Regions from separate parts of the Homo sapiens genome. Here all the other regions are linked to region 1. The links are contacts of gene promoters, found by promoter capture Hi-C in blood cells and fetal thymus (Javierre and others, 2016). All regions are on one chromosome and are shown on one strand. The core of a region is centred on a gene start or on the middle of the fragment in contact, and the rest is flanking DNA. Distances in the headings are between cores, read along the strand shown.

Region 1 (2,759 bases), core at 260-2,759:
AAAAAGGTTATTTTACTATAAACATACAAGTGTCAATATAAAAGAAGCAGCTACCCATAACTCCACCCCCGTAATACAACCACAAATGGTATTTTTGCCTACTTCTAGTTTTTTTCTATGACTCCTAAAAACAAACCAAAACCCATAGTTTTAACATAAAATTATTATCCGATGGGTAAGAAATACTTAATACCAAAGGCAGTCTCACACATTGCTTCAAAATCATGTTTAATGGACATATAACATTTCTACAACTATCTCAACTTGCTGAACCATTTTCCTAATACTGGATTTTTACTTAGTTTTAATTTTTTCTCTGTAATAAGACTGCAGTAAACATTTTCTTATATAACTTTTTGTGTGATTGAGTGTTGTAAGCTTTCAATAATGAGAGGTTGGAGCCTTCTGTCCAAAGAGAAAATTAAAAGTGTGGCACCTGACCCCCACCTCCAGAATTTAATCAAGATGGGGTTATTAGTAGTGAAAGATGTTATTAGGTTGTTGAAGACAAAGATGTTTTCAGGAACACCATATTCAAGACTGGCGCTTCTCTAGTAATCTTAACTTGGGGCTTTTTAATCTCTTGCACCTCCCTTCCACTAAAGGGAAAAAAAACGGAGAGCAAATCCCACATTAGTCTTTTTTGCGGGGAAGGGGCCATTCCAGGGAAGGGTCTGATTGATGAGTCTATCGGCAACTGTGATCCTGTGTCACCCTTGCCTGGGGCCTGTGAAGAATATTGAGATTACGAGAGGTACACCTGTACATTGCATTCAGAATACAGCCATCTGATACAGAAAACACAATGTAGATTGTAAAAAGGAGTTTACAAGAAAACCTGACAAGCTTCCTAGATATCACTGGGTATTAAATTGGGAATGTTGATGTCATTTGAAATGGATTTCTTTAAGAGTTCTTCTCATTACCAGAAGTTTTTTGTGTTTTTTTTTTTCAAGACCTTAAAACCGGAACTTTCCCGAAGAAAAATGCAAATAAGAATCTCCTTCTGGGAATCCGACTTAGTGAGCCATCAGAAATCTGAACTAGGAAGTCTCCGCCCCAGCTTTGTCCTTTGATTATACACACATGGGCACATGCACAGACACAAACAAATACAGACATGGGTACAAACACGTGAGCACACACACAGACACACAGAGACTCACACACAGAGAAGCAGAGACACACACACACACAGGCAGACACTCCACAAAGGGCACAGAGGTTTAAACAATGACTCACCTGTTCCCCAGGCCCGGTCACTTGCAGGGAGCTGAAGAGCCTGTCATCACCAGTCCACAGCGTTGCTACCTGTCTCCGCTTTCTCCTCTCTCTGGTCCAGGGGAAGGTTTGCTTCCCTCCACAGGCAGGACAGGACAGGAGGAGCCTCTACTCCAATGGAAAACAGCCGCAGAGCAGAGGTCAAGAGCAGCAGCCTCGGACCAGAGCAATGCCCACTGGACCCCAGCGCCAAGGTCAGGCCTCTTCTCCTCCCAGAAGGTTTCAGGGCAAAGTCCACAGTGGTCATGTGGTCACCTGAGGCAGGGCAGGAGGCTGGACCTCAAAGCAGGTGACCCGGGAGCACCTGCGCGCTGCCGGAAGTCAAGTCACATTCCAGTCCTGCATTTCCTGGCACCCAACTGGAGCCCGTTTTTCAGCTTTATTCCGGGGTTTCACTTCCAGGATCTCACTTTGGCACAGAATGTTTTTCTTGGCTCCTTCCTTGGAGCTGTATGGAATCTTTGTTGCACTTGAAAAACCAACAGCCCAGAAGAGAAAAGAATATTCCGGTCAGATGAATTAATTCCTCCCACTGTCAGCTAGAAGCCATCCCTGGCTGAGCCCTGCACTGGCCAGAGGCAACTGAGTGTGAGCCAGTCCAGGGTCAGATCCTGGGCTGATGCCACCTGAGGGCGGGGTGGGGGCGTGGCCTCCGTGCACATGGGAGACTCCAGGTGCAGGAGAGGGGGAGGTGGACTTCCTCTTGGTCTTCCCAAGCCATGAAACTTCCTGGCTTGGTGGTAACAGAAGAGTCTCCTCCAGGTAAGATTTCCAGAGCCTCTGAGTATGGCTGGGGTAGCAGGGTTGGGCCTGAGGCTGAGGAGATGGAAATCTGTTGCCGTGAACATTACTCCACACAGCCAGTATACGGGAAGCCAGCTCACTTTATGTCCTCCAAACTCACCCTAACTTCTCGTTTGGGTCTCATCCCGCGGGGCTGCTGGGAAATAAGCTCCGCCACCACAGTGGTTCCTCCGCCCTGTGGGAGTGGGGGGCTCTTATGCTGGAGGGGGGACACTGGCCTGGACTTCTGCTGAGGCTCTGCCCCTCATCCCTGCAGGACGGACTAGCCAGTCCTAACACAGGACTAGCGTTGCTCTACCACGTCCAAGCCTCCTCTGAGATTCTTCCTCCATGCAACCACTTCCCCTGGGGCGTGGCCACCTCCCTGGAAGCCGCCAGCATGCTCGGCTGGGCCCCCGCACTCTGGAGGCTTGAGAATCTCTCTATTTTTGAATGACGTCCTTATCCTCTGCCCCCAGGCTGGTAACCAAAGGTCTGGGGGTGGTGACGTGCTGGGAATGGTGTAACTCGTGAGATGGAGGCTGAATGTGGAAATACATGAATGTGCTTCTCTTCTCTCCAGTTCCCTTGAAGAATCCACCTTCCTGCAGGGTTGGGGGAGCGCAGAATGGGAGGAAGATACAAATACCAATTTTATAGCAAGAATGCAAAAAGAGGCCAGCGCGGTGGCTCGA
Region 2 (5,043 bases), core at 1,899-4,398, 190 kb after region 1:
AGGTTCAAGCCTCCCACCTCAGCCTCTCGAGTAGCCGGAAATACAGGCACCCACCATCATGCCTGGCTAATTTTTGTGTTTTTGTAGAGACGGGGTTTCTCCATGTTGGCCAGGCTGGTCTTGAACTCCTGACCTCAGGTGATCCTCCTGCCTTGGCCTCCCAAAGTGCTGGGATTACAGGCATGAGCCACCATGCCTGGCCCATTTAACCTTCTAGCCTACTTTTGCTATGGTCAGAGAACATGGTCCCTGTTATACCTGGTCTTTGAAATTTGTCAATACTTGCTTAATGGCCTGATACATGATTCACTTTTGTAAATGTCTCCAATGTGGTTAAGAAGAATGTGTAGTCTCTGATTTATGGATGCAAAATTCTGTATACTTCCACTGATCAAACTTGTGAAGTGTGCATTCAGATCTGATTTCTTTTGTCTGCTTAAATTCTCAGTAGCTGATAGAGATTTGTCAAGCTCTTCCAAAAGATGATGGTGGATTTATCTCATTCTCCCTATTTCTCCTATATATGTTGAGGCTATTGATACTAGATGTTTAAAATTCTGATATCTTCTTGATGAGTTAAACCTTTTATCACTTTGTAGTGACCCTTTTGGTCCCTGCTGCTGTTGACCTTGTCGGGTATTCACGTGGCCGCATCAGCTTTCTTTTGGTTAGTGTTTGTCCACTTCTGATTTTTGCATCCCTTGGCTTCCAGTCTTCCGTGTGTTGTTATGCGTTAGATGATCTCCTTCAGATGCACATAGCTAGGTGGCGGTGGCTCTTAGTTGAATCTGGAATCTGTGGATCTTAATAGAGCCCTTAGTCCATTGTTATTGGTATATTTGGACTCGTTTTCACCATCTGACTGTGGATAACCATTTGTTCTGTCTTTTGTGTGTCATTTTTCTCTTGCCAAATTTAAATTTTATATTCAATTTCTATTCTTTTCAGTGATCACACATGGGGTATTTTTATTTAACTTAAAAAAAAATTAAAGTTGAACACTATCTTTACTCCCCTCCTATAAAATAGAAGGACTTTTGAGCACTTTAGCTTCACCCTCCTGCCTGGCATGCACACCCTCACACATATGTGTATATGTGTATATGTATATGTACACATGTACATCCACACATAAATACTTTTGAGCTTCATAAATCCCACTTATCAGATAATACTATTGTTGTGTTGTTGTTGCTGTTGTTTTATATTGCCCATGTTTGTTTGACATAACTACATATTGGCCATTTTATATGTCTGTCCTGCTAGTGTCTCAGACTGTACTAGAATCATTTTCCTCCTCACTGAAGTACATACTGTAGAAATTCTTTTAGAGCAGACTTCTTGGTGGTGAATTCCCTGTTTTTGTTTGTACATGTTTTCGTTTCATCCTTGTTCTTGGACAGTAGTATTCAGGGACATGCAATTCTGTGTGGTGGTCATTTTCCTCAATGATTATAGCGATTATGCCACCATCTGCTGGCTTCCATTGAGCTGTTGAGAAAGTTGTTGTTTTAACGGTCGGTCCTTTGTAGGGACCTTTTTTTTTCTTCTCTAGTTTCTTTCAGGTTCTGTTTGTCTTTGATTTTCTACAGTTTTACTGTTAGATGTAGTTTATTGGAATCTTTCTGCTTGAGATATATAGTGTTTCTTGGATCTGTGAAGTCTTTTTAAAAATTGATTTTGGAAAATATTCAACCATTAACTCCTTAAATAATTCCTCTTTTTTAGTCTCTCCACTTTCCCCTCTGGAACTCTAATCAGAGGATGTTAGAGATTCTCATTGTCTCCACATTTTTTAACCATCTCTCTTTCATGTTTTCTATCTCCTTACCTCTCTCTATTGGATAATGCCTAAAGTTTTTGCAAAGATTTTCCAGTTCACCATTTTTTTTAAAAAGTGTCTTCATTGTTGATAGTTTCTTGCTGCATGTTCATGTATGTCCTCTTTTTAAATTGTATTCTTATTCTTTAAATATTTCATACACAGCTGTTTGGTTTTCTGTATCTGACAACTGAAACATGCTCAGTCTTTGGGGGTCTAATTCTGTCATTTATTGCTTCTGTTGACTCTCACTCAAATGGTTTGTCACCTTAGTGTTTTGTGAGCTTATGCTTGATTTTAATTTGTAGGAATAACTCCAGGCTTAACTTGTGGAAACTTCCTGCAAAAAGGGCTTGCTTCTGCCTCTGCTAGTGAGGTGGGGTCGGGACTTCTGTCCCAGGACCCAAACAAGCTTCCTTGAGTGTTTTGGGTCGAAAGCAGAGCCATAGACCCTGTTCTTGTCACCCCTCCAAAACCACGTTCTCCCAGCTTAGGGCACCCCACTCTGCCCTGCTGCCTGTGGGTCCAGATGATGCCCTGCTAATGTGGCTTCTGCAGCTCGTCTTCTGCCTGACTCTCAGGCTCCATGGCCCTGGCTCCCAGGTGTGGCCGTCTTGGCCTCAGGCATTCCTGCCTTGGACTCTGGCTGCCAGGGCTGTGGGGACCACCTTCGCCATGCAGTCCAGGCTCAGCTCTTGTTGTTTGTGTTTGTTTACCTCATGCCTCACTTACCTTTTGTGAAACCATCAGGATCCCCACTGGGCGTGTGGCTCACGCCTGTAATCCCAGCACTTTGGGAGGCCGAGGTGGGTAGATCACCTGAGGTCAGGAGTTCAAGACCAGCCTGACCAACATGGTGAAACCCCATCTCTAATAAAATACAAAAAATTAGCCAGGTGTGGTGGTGTGCACCTGTAGTCTCAGCTACTCAGGAGGCTGAGACAAGAGAATTGTTTGAACCCAGAAGGCGGAGGTTGCAGTGAGCCAAGATCACACCGTTATACTCTGGCCTGGGTGACAGAGCGAGACTTTGTCTCAAAAAAAAAAACAAACAAAAAAAGAGGCCGAGCGTGGTGGCTCATGCCTGTAATCCCAGCACTTTGGGAGGCCAAGGCGGACAGATCACGAGGTCAGGAGATCGAGACCATCCTGGCCAACATGGCAAAACCCCGTCTCTACTAAAATACAAAAAATTAACTGAGGGTGGTGGCGCACACCTGTAGTCCCGGGAGGCTGAGGCAGGGGAATCGCTTGAACCCGTGAGGCGGAGCTTGCAGTGAGCCGAGATCACGCCACTGCACTCCAGCCTGGGCGACTGAGCGAGATTCCATCTCAAGAAAAAAAAAAGAAAACCATCAGGATCCCCAAGGGTGTTCCCTCTCTGGAGTCCAGTTGTTTCAGAGGAGGAAGGGCATCATGAGGGACCAGGGGCCAAGTTATCATTTTATTTTTCAGTAGGATTGGAATTTCGGTAACACAGAACCCTGTTATGTTTGGAGGAAACAAGTTCCTTAAAGCTCACTGCCTTTCCTCCGTTCCCAGCTCCGCTCTGCATTGGATAAAACAGAAGAGCTCGAGGTGAGCAACGGCCACTTAGTGAAGCGTCTGGAAAAAATGAAAGCAAATCGGAGTGCACTCTTGTCCCAGCAGTAAATTCCAGCTCTGATCAGGCAACTGGTTGGTGACTGGAGAGCATTGTTTCATAGGCTTTTCTCTGTCCTATCTGGGAGCGCTGCTTCTTCCCCTGCCTTCCGAGAGACGAAGACCGTGGCGAGCTTGGCGCTTAGGGGCTCCCGTGCCATGGCTCACCCCAGGGAGCCCCAGCAGCCACCAGGTGCCTCTGTCTGCAGACCCCTGGCCCGGGCTGGCGCCGACGCTCAGAACCTGCAGGTACTTCATAAGCACACAGGGGCCTCGAGGGAGCTCTGTGTCTGACCGCACAGCAGCCTCTGAATGCCGCTGGAAGTGATGATCAAAGTAAAGATTCAGTTGGGACTTGAGTTTTTTTTTTTTTTCATGTGTCTTGCTGAAGATTAAGGGGAAATGTTACAGTGTTGGGACTTCCTTTCATGGCAGAATCTACAATTTGAGCGACTTCAGTAGTATCTCTTAGTCTACGCTTTTCATACACAAAACACTGTGGAACCACAAGCCATTACCAAGCAAAACTCTTTCACTGGAAACAAGGGGGCAGTCTAGAAGTAAAAGTGACCTTAAGAAGACTCTTTACAGGCAACAAATGAAGCTTTTCTAAGGGATTTTTGCATCAGTTCAGTCATAAGAATACTTTTTTCCAGGGTAATTAGGCAATAGCTTCACTGAAAATGACAGCTTTTCATTGCATTATTTAATCCTTATATTTGGAATTGAAGTCGTTAACTTCTTTTAAAGAATGTACTATTAGAAAAATTAAAAATGAAATGTTGAGAGACTTCAGCAATGTGGTTCTAATTTTTTTCCACTGAGAAAGAAGATCTTTAATTTCATATTAATGGTTCTGTATATTTTGGGTCATCTTTTTATTTTTTAAGAATATCAAGTCAATTCATTTTTCTTTCCCTATTTAAAAAAAAAGGTGTTTTCACAGAATGAGTGCACTTAAAAAGTGAAGTGAAGGAGGAGGTAACAGTAGAGACGATGGCAATATCATCAAGGACAAAAGTAAAAACGTTTAGCTACCTGCTGATTTTTAGTGACTGTTCATATATGTTGTATTTCAAGTATGGCTGGTGAAGCCAGTCAGCTTTTCGGGACGTTAGCAAGTGGAAACTGAGTCAGTATCATCCAAAACCATATCTAGTCTTAACACATGGAGAATGCTGGAGTGAGGGTTGTGAGTTCAGGGTATATAATCAAGAAAACACTCCCAGCATAATGCTAGGGGTCACCAGTGTCCATCCCCCAGAACTGTATGGATCTAGGATATACACAGCTGCGTTGCATTAAGAAAGAGATGAAATCTCTATTAAAATACACAAGATTTTTGTATCTCCTTGTGCAGAGGATATTTGCCACTGCCCATTGGGAAGCAGACAAGTTATAGGGGGCTGGGGGCCAACACTGGCAAGTAGGAAACCACGGGTCGGACAGGTGAGCAAAATGTGCTGGCAGGTGGGCACCACTGGGAGACCCACACTGCACACCCGGGCACCGTATGAACAGGAAAGAGGAAGGAAGCTGGACGAAGCCCCTCAGGGACCCTGTGCTGACCATGCTGGGCC
Region 3 (5,043 bases), core at 1,120-3,619, 170 kb after region 1:
CCTCAAGTCGACAGGGGATGGGACCCTAGGTAAGTATTTGCTTTCCTTCGGCTCCTCACACCTTTCCACTCAGCATTGGTTCACCCTCCATGCACTGCTGGGGTTGGAGCCACCGTCGCTGATGGGTTAACAGTCACCAGCATGCCATTTGTTTCATCACTTCATGGTAATTTCCTTGCCCACCCGGTGTGGTCACCCACGTGTTGTCTGGCATGCATCTCTGTGTAGTGCACCATCAATGGCTCAAGTGAACCTTTTCTTTTGCTGCTCAAAGCTACCAAGCAAGACTGTGAAGGCAAAAGGAAAACAGTCTCAAAATTAAGTAACAATGTGGAGAGTACTATTTGGTTTTCCTCAGACACATATATATCTGTACCTATAAAGTGTGGCTTTTTAAACCGATTCTATGACAGAATTATCAAAAGATCAGAATGGTTGAGGCCGTCAAGTCAGTTGGCCATATTTGCAAGCCAACATCGACATCCTGGGCAGCATTCAGCGCTTTGAGGGTACGGGGTGCCTGTGGACAGCAGGTCCGTCTGTGTTGCCTTTTTCAAGCCACCGCTCGAGGTGGGCAGGCGGCCGTGGTAGTGGGTGTGGCGGTGCTGAGAGTCTGAGTATGCCCACCTTTGTCAGAGGGGATCCTCCTTTGTATGCCACGTGTTTGCTTCTGAAAGAATATAAAACTGGGGAATCCAGTAGATCAGAGGAATATTTTATACCATTTTCAATGATCTGATTTGTCATAATTTGTCATAAGAGTTGGCTTTGGGAGAAACCTTCAGATTCTGGCGTGCAGCCTGAAGTTGCAGCGTGCAAGTGAGGCCTCATCTGTCACTGGTCACCCTCTGCGTTCCAGTGTTTTACAAAGAGGCTGGAATAAGGTCAGGGTCCGTGACTTTTCATTTTAATGTAGAAGCTTTCATCTTATTTCTTTTTATTTATGGAAATGTAGACACCTCCAGGCCCCATCTTCTCAGGCCTCGCATTCCAGGGAGGTACCTCATTCATTATCTTTATGACTATTAAAGAAACACAGCTCTTTTCAATTGTGTAAAAAAAGTTGTGGCCTAGTGCAGTGGCTCACACTTCTAATCCCAGCGCTGCGGGTGGCCAAGGCTGGAGGATCACTTAAGACCAGGAATTCCAGGCCAGCCTGGCAACCTAGCAAGATTCCGTCTCTAGATAGGTATGTAGTATCTATATACCGTTGTTGAGAAAAGATAAATTAATCAATTTCCATCATACCTTTATATGAGCTACCCGAACAGCTAGGAATCTGATTACGCTGCTCTTACTCAAATACACATTTTATAAATCTTTGATAACCATTGTGAAATGTTGTAAGAACCAGAAATGTCAGTTTTGAAAGTGGCCTTCAAATGACTTTTGATCACATATTCCTTCAGCAAAGAATTGTAGGATCCAATATGTATGTTTATTTTAAATCTACATATGTATACTATTTCATTAATATAAAATGTACGTTATAAAATATATGCAAAGATATGCAAAGAAGTTTTAGAGTAAAACTCTAAATAGAATTCCTAATATTTCCCCCATTTTCCCTGGGATATGGGCACCCCACCATGGAGATCACTGGGCTATAAAATTATCTAGCTTTGACTTTCAGTAACATAGTACCATATCTAATCTGCTGGGGTTTTGTTTGGAGAGTCCAAAAATTCCAAAACAGTTTGATGTTCTTTAGACGATGAATAATTTATCATTTAATTTAGTGGTCATCTTGATCTTGAACATTTGCCTCCTGCTGGTCCTCTCTCCCTAGTCCCTTAGGGAATGGAGCAGAGGTATCAGGGCATGGACACAGGGTGTTTTCTCAGGAAAACAATAGTTGAGTGGCAGAAGATAGATTTCCTTTCATATGAGCTATTTCAAAAGCATCTTCCTTGAGACTGACCTTGAGGCTGCATTTCTAAAAGTGCACTGAATATTCTTTTTAAAAATTACTTGAAAGCTGCTTTTAGGGCTGTGTGACATGGAGTGCAGTTTGACAGCTGCAAAAGTACAAGTTGTCAAGTTGTTCATTGAGAAGTGAGAGTGGGGAATTGAACCTTCAGTCTGTTCCTAAACCCATCATTGTGGATTGTTTGGCTGCCTGATCCAGAGTTCTTTCTATTTGTTGAAACTTAACGTCACCTTTAAAAATCTGTCCACACAAGATGGCACCAGCAGCCACTCTGGCCTTTGATGTGGTGGCAGTGGCCCTCACTGACCCAAAATTTACTAATGCAACTGCTGCTTTGCCGCACAGAACTGGCAAAGGCTTGTTTCTCATGACTCTTTGATGACTCTGTCTTTAGGAATAGGGGTGGGTGGGATTTGGAACGTGTGTTTACATTCTAATGTAGATTATGTGGCCGCCACATCATGGGGTCCCTTCAATTTTCTCAATGGTCTTTTAGGAAGAGCCAGTGAAGTGGAGGTGAAAAATGAAATCGTGGCGAATGTGGGGAAAAGAGAAATCTTGCACAATACTGAGAAAGAACAACACACAGAGGACACAGTGAAGGACTGTGTGGACATAGAGGTATTCCCTGCTGGTGAGAATACCGAGGACCAGAAATCCTCTGAAGACACTGCCCCATTCCTAGGAACCTTAGCAGGTGCTACCTATGAGGAACAGGTTCAAAGCCAAATTCTTGAGAGCAGTTCTCTCCCTGAAAACACAGTACAGGTTGAGTCAAATGAGGTCATGGGTGCACCAGATGACAGGACCAGAACTCCCCTTGAGCCATCCAACTGTTGGAGTGACTTAGATGGTGGGAACCACACAGAGAATGTGGGAGAGGCAGCAGTGACTCAGGTTGAAGAGCAGGCAGGCACAGTGGCCTCGTGTCCTTTAGGGCATAGTGATGACACAGTTTATCATGATGACAAATGTATGGTAGAGGTCCCCCAAGAGTTAGAGACAAGCACAGGGCATAGTTTAGAGAAAGAATTCACCAACCAGGAAGCAGCTGAGCCCAAGGAGGTTCCAGCGCACAGTACAGAAGTAGGTAGGGATCACAACGAAGAAGAGGGTGAAGAAACAGGATTAAGGGACGAGAAACCAATCAAGACAGAAGTTCCTGGTTCTCCAGCAGGAACTGAGGGCAACTGTCAGGAAGCGACAGGTCCAAGTACAGTAGACACTCAAAATGAACCCTTAGATATGAAAGAGCCCGATGAAGAAAAGAGTGACCAACAGGGAGAGGCATTGGACTCATCGCAGAAGAAGACAAAGAACAAGAAAAAGAAAAACAAGAAGAAAAAATCCCCAGTACCCGTAGAAACCCTTAAAGATGTTAAAAAAGAGTTAACGTATCAGAACACAGATTTAAGTGAAATTAAGGAAGAAGAGCAGGTAAAGTCTACTGACAGAAAGTCAGCAGTGGAAGCCCAAAACGAGGTGACTGAAAATCCAAAACAGAAAATTGCAGCAGAAAGCAGTGAAAATGTTGATTGTCCGGAGAATCCTAAAATTAAGTTGGATGGAAAACTTGACCAAGAAGGTGATGATGTACAAACAGCAGCTGAGGAGGTACTAGCTGATGGAGACACATTAGATTTTGAGGATGACACCGTTCAATCATCAGGCCCGAGGGCTGGTGGTGAAGAATTAGATGAAGGTGTTGCAAAAGATAATGCTAAAATAGATGGTGCCACTCAAAGCAGTCCTGCAGAACCAAAGAGCGAAGACGCAGATCGCTGCACCCTGCCCGAACATGAAAGTCCCTCACAGGACATTAGTGATGCCTGTGAAGCAGAAAGTACAGAGAGGTGTGAGATGTCAGAACATCCAAGTCAGACCGTCAGGAAAGCTTTAGACAGCAATAGCCTAGAGAACGATGACTTGTCGGCACCAGGAAGAGAGCCAGGGCACTTCAATCCAGAAAGCAGAGAAGATACCAGAGGAGGGAATGAGAAGGGCAAAAGCAAAGAAGACTGTACCATGTCCTAAGCTGAGGCAGGCGGCAGGCGCGGTGCACAGGAAGTCTCAGTGTGAAGGGGTCTTTTCTCTCCACTGCCAATGTAAGTAGAATGTTCTAAATTCATAGAGAGGCACTGTATGACAATTACCAGGTGCTCTACTGCTTTAAGTTATAGACTGTTACTTGTAGATTTCCATGTAATCATTGAGGTTATCACCCAGATTAGAAAGACATATTTGTTATCAGTGTACGTTCTAATTGAGAGCATTCCAGTAGTATCAAACAATAATGTCTACTGTTTATAGTCCACTTAATAAAAATAGAGGCATTTACTATTTGCCTTAGGCTGATAGGAATGTGGGTTTTCTTGACCAAATATATCAGCATCTAATTGAAATGACCAAATAGCATTCTTAGACTTCTGTATTATGAATATAATTGATATTTAAATTAATGTCTTGTTCACATATGTGTACTTTCATATTTGATTTTAAAATGTACATTATAACCTGTATGGTATTTTATTTAAAGGAGATAAACAGCCAAATAGCAAATAGGTCACTGAATGATAAGATTTGCACCTTAGAACAATAATCATTTTAAGGATAACAAGTAAATGTCTGAAAGCATGAGGGGCTTTATTTGCCTTTACCTCATATGAGTCTTTGATCTTGAACCGATACTTTTGGATCTCATTGTTGATATACCTGAATTTACTTTGTAAGAGATTTTAACTTCACTTCATGCTGATGATGTATCAAATTCATTTTATAGAAAGATTTAAAGTTTTTTTCTGGAAGTGATATATGTCAAATTACATTTCCTACTGCAGTATTTGAGCAGGGACAGTCATTTTTTAAATGTTTTTGGCCGGGCGTGGTGGCTCATGCCTGTAATCTCAGTACATTGGGAGGCCAAGGCAGGTGGATCACCTGAGGTCAAGAGTTCGAGGCCAGCCTGGCCAACATGGTGAAACCCTGTCTCTACTAAAAATACAAAAAATTGGCCGGGCGTGATGGTGGGCGCCTGTAATCCCAGCCACTCCAGAGGCTGAGGCAGGAGAATCGCTTGAACCTGCGAGGCAGAGATTGCAGTGAGCCAAGATCAA

Evidence for each region. Contacts are between HindIII fragments. The CHiCAGO score rates a contact against its expected background, and 5 or more counts as called.
Region 2: a contact is called between a fragment that was not itself captured here and the fragment with the promoter of RAB17 in region 1, in 1 of 17 cell types (endothelial precursors). The highest score is 6.6, in endothelial precursors.
Region 3: a fragment that was not itself captured here is called in contact with the fragment with the promoter of RAB17 in region 1 in 1 of 17 cell types (naive B cells); the score reaches 5.0 in naive B cells.

Annotation. Positions count from the first base shown.
Region 1 is chr2:237,589,225-237,591,983 of GRCh38, forward strand. It overlaps RAB17 (RAB17, member RAS oncogene family), which reads right to left and starts at 1,510. Exons shown (of 6, transcript NM_022449.4): 1 at 1,243-1,510. RAB17-DT (RAB17 divergent transcript) reads left to right here and starts at 1,936. Exons shown (of 3, transcript NR_187201.1): 1 at 1,936-2,043; 2 at 2,648-2,759. The HindIII fragment of the contact is 11,150 bases long and covers 845-2,759 here.
Region 2 is chr2:237,776,058-237,781,100 of GRCh38, forward strand. It overlaps LRRFIP1 (LRR binding FLII interacting protein 1), which reads left to right. Exons shown (of 24, transcript NM_001137550.2): 24 at 3,365-5,043. The coding sequence ends at 3,475. Among named protein-coding and RNA genes, the nearest start is that of RBM44, 20 kb to the right of the region's middle. The HindIII fragment of the contact is 1,833 bases long and covers 2,233-4,065 here.
Region 3 is chr2:237,760,177-237,765,219 of GRCh38, forward strand. It overlaps LRRFIP1 (LRR binding FLII interacting protein 1), which reads left to right. Exons shown (of 24, transcript NM_001137550.2): 19 at 1-29. Among named protein-coding and RNA genes, the nearest start is that of RBM44, 36 kb to the right of the region's middle. RefSeq lists a silencer at 2,253-2,465. The HindIII fragment of the contact is 2,905 bases long and covers 918-3,822 here.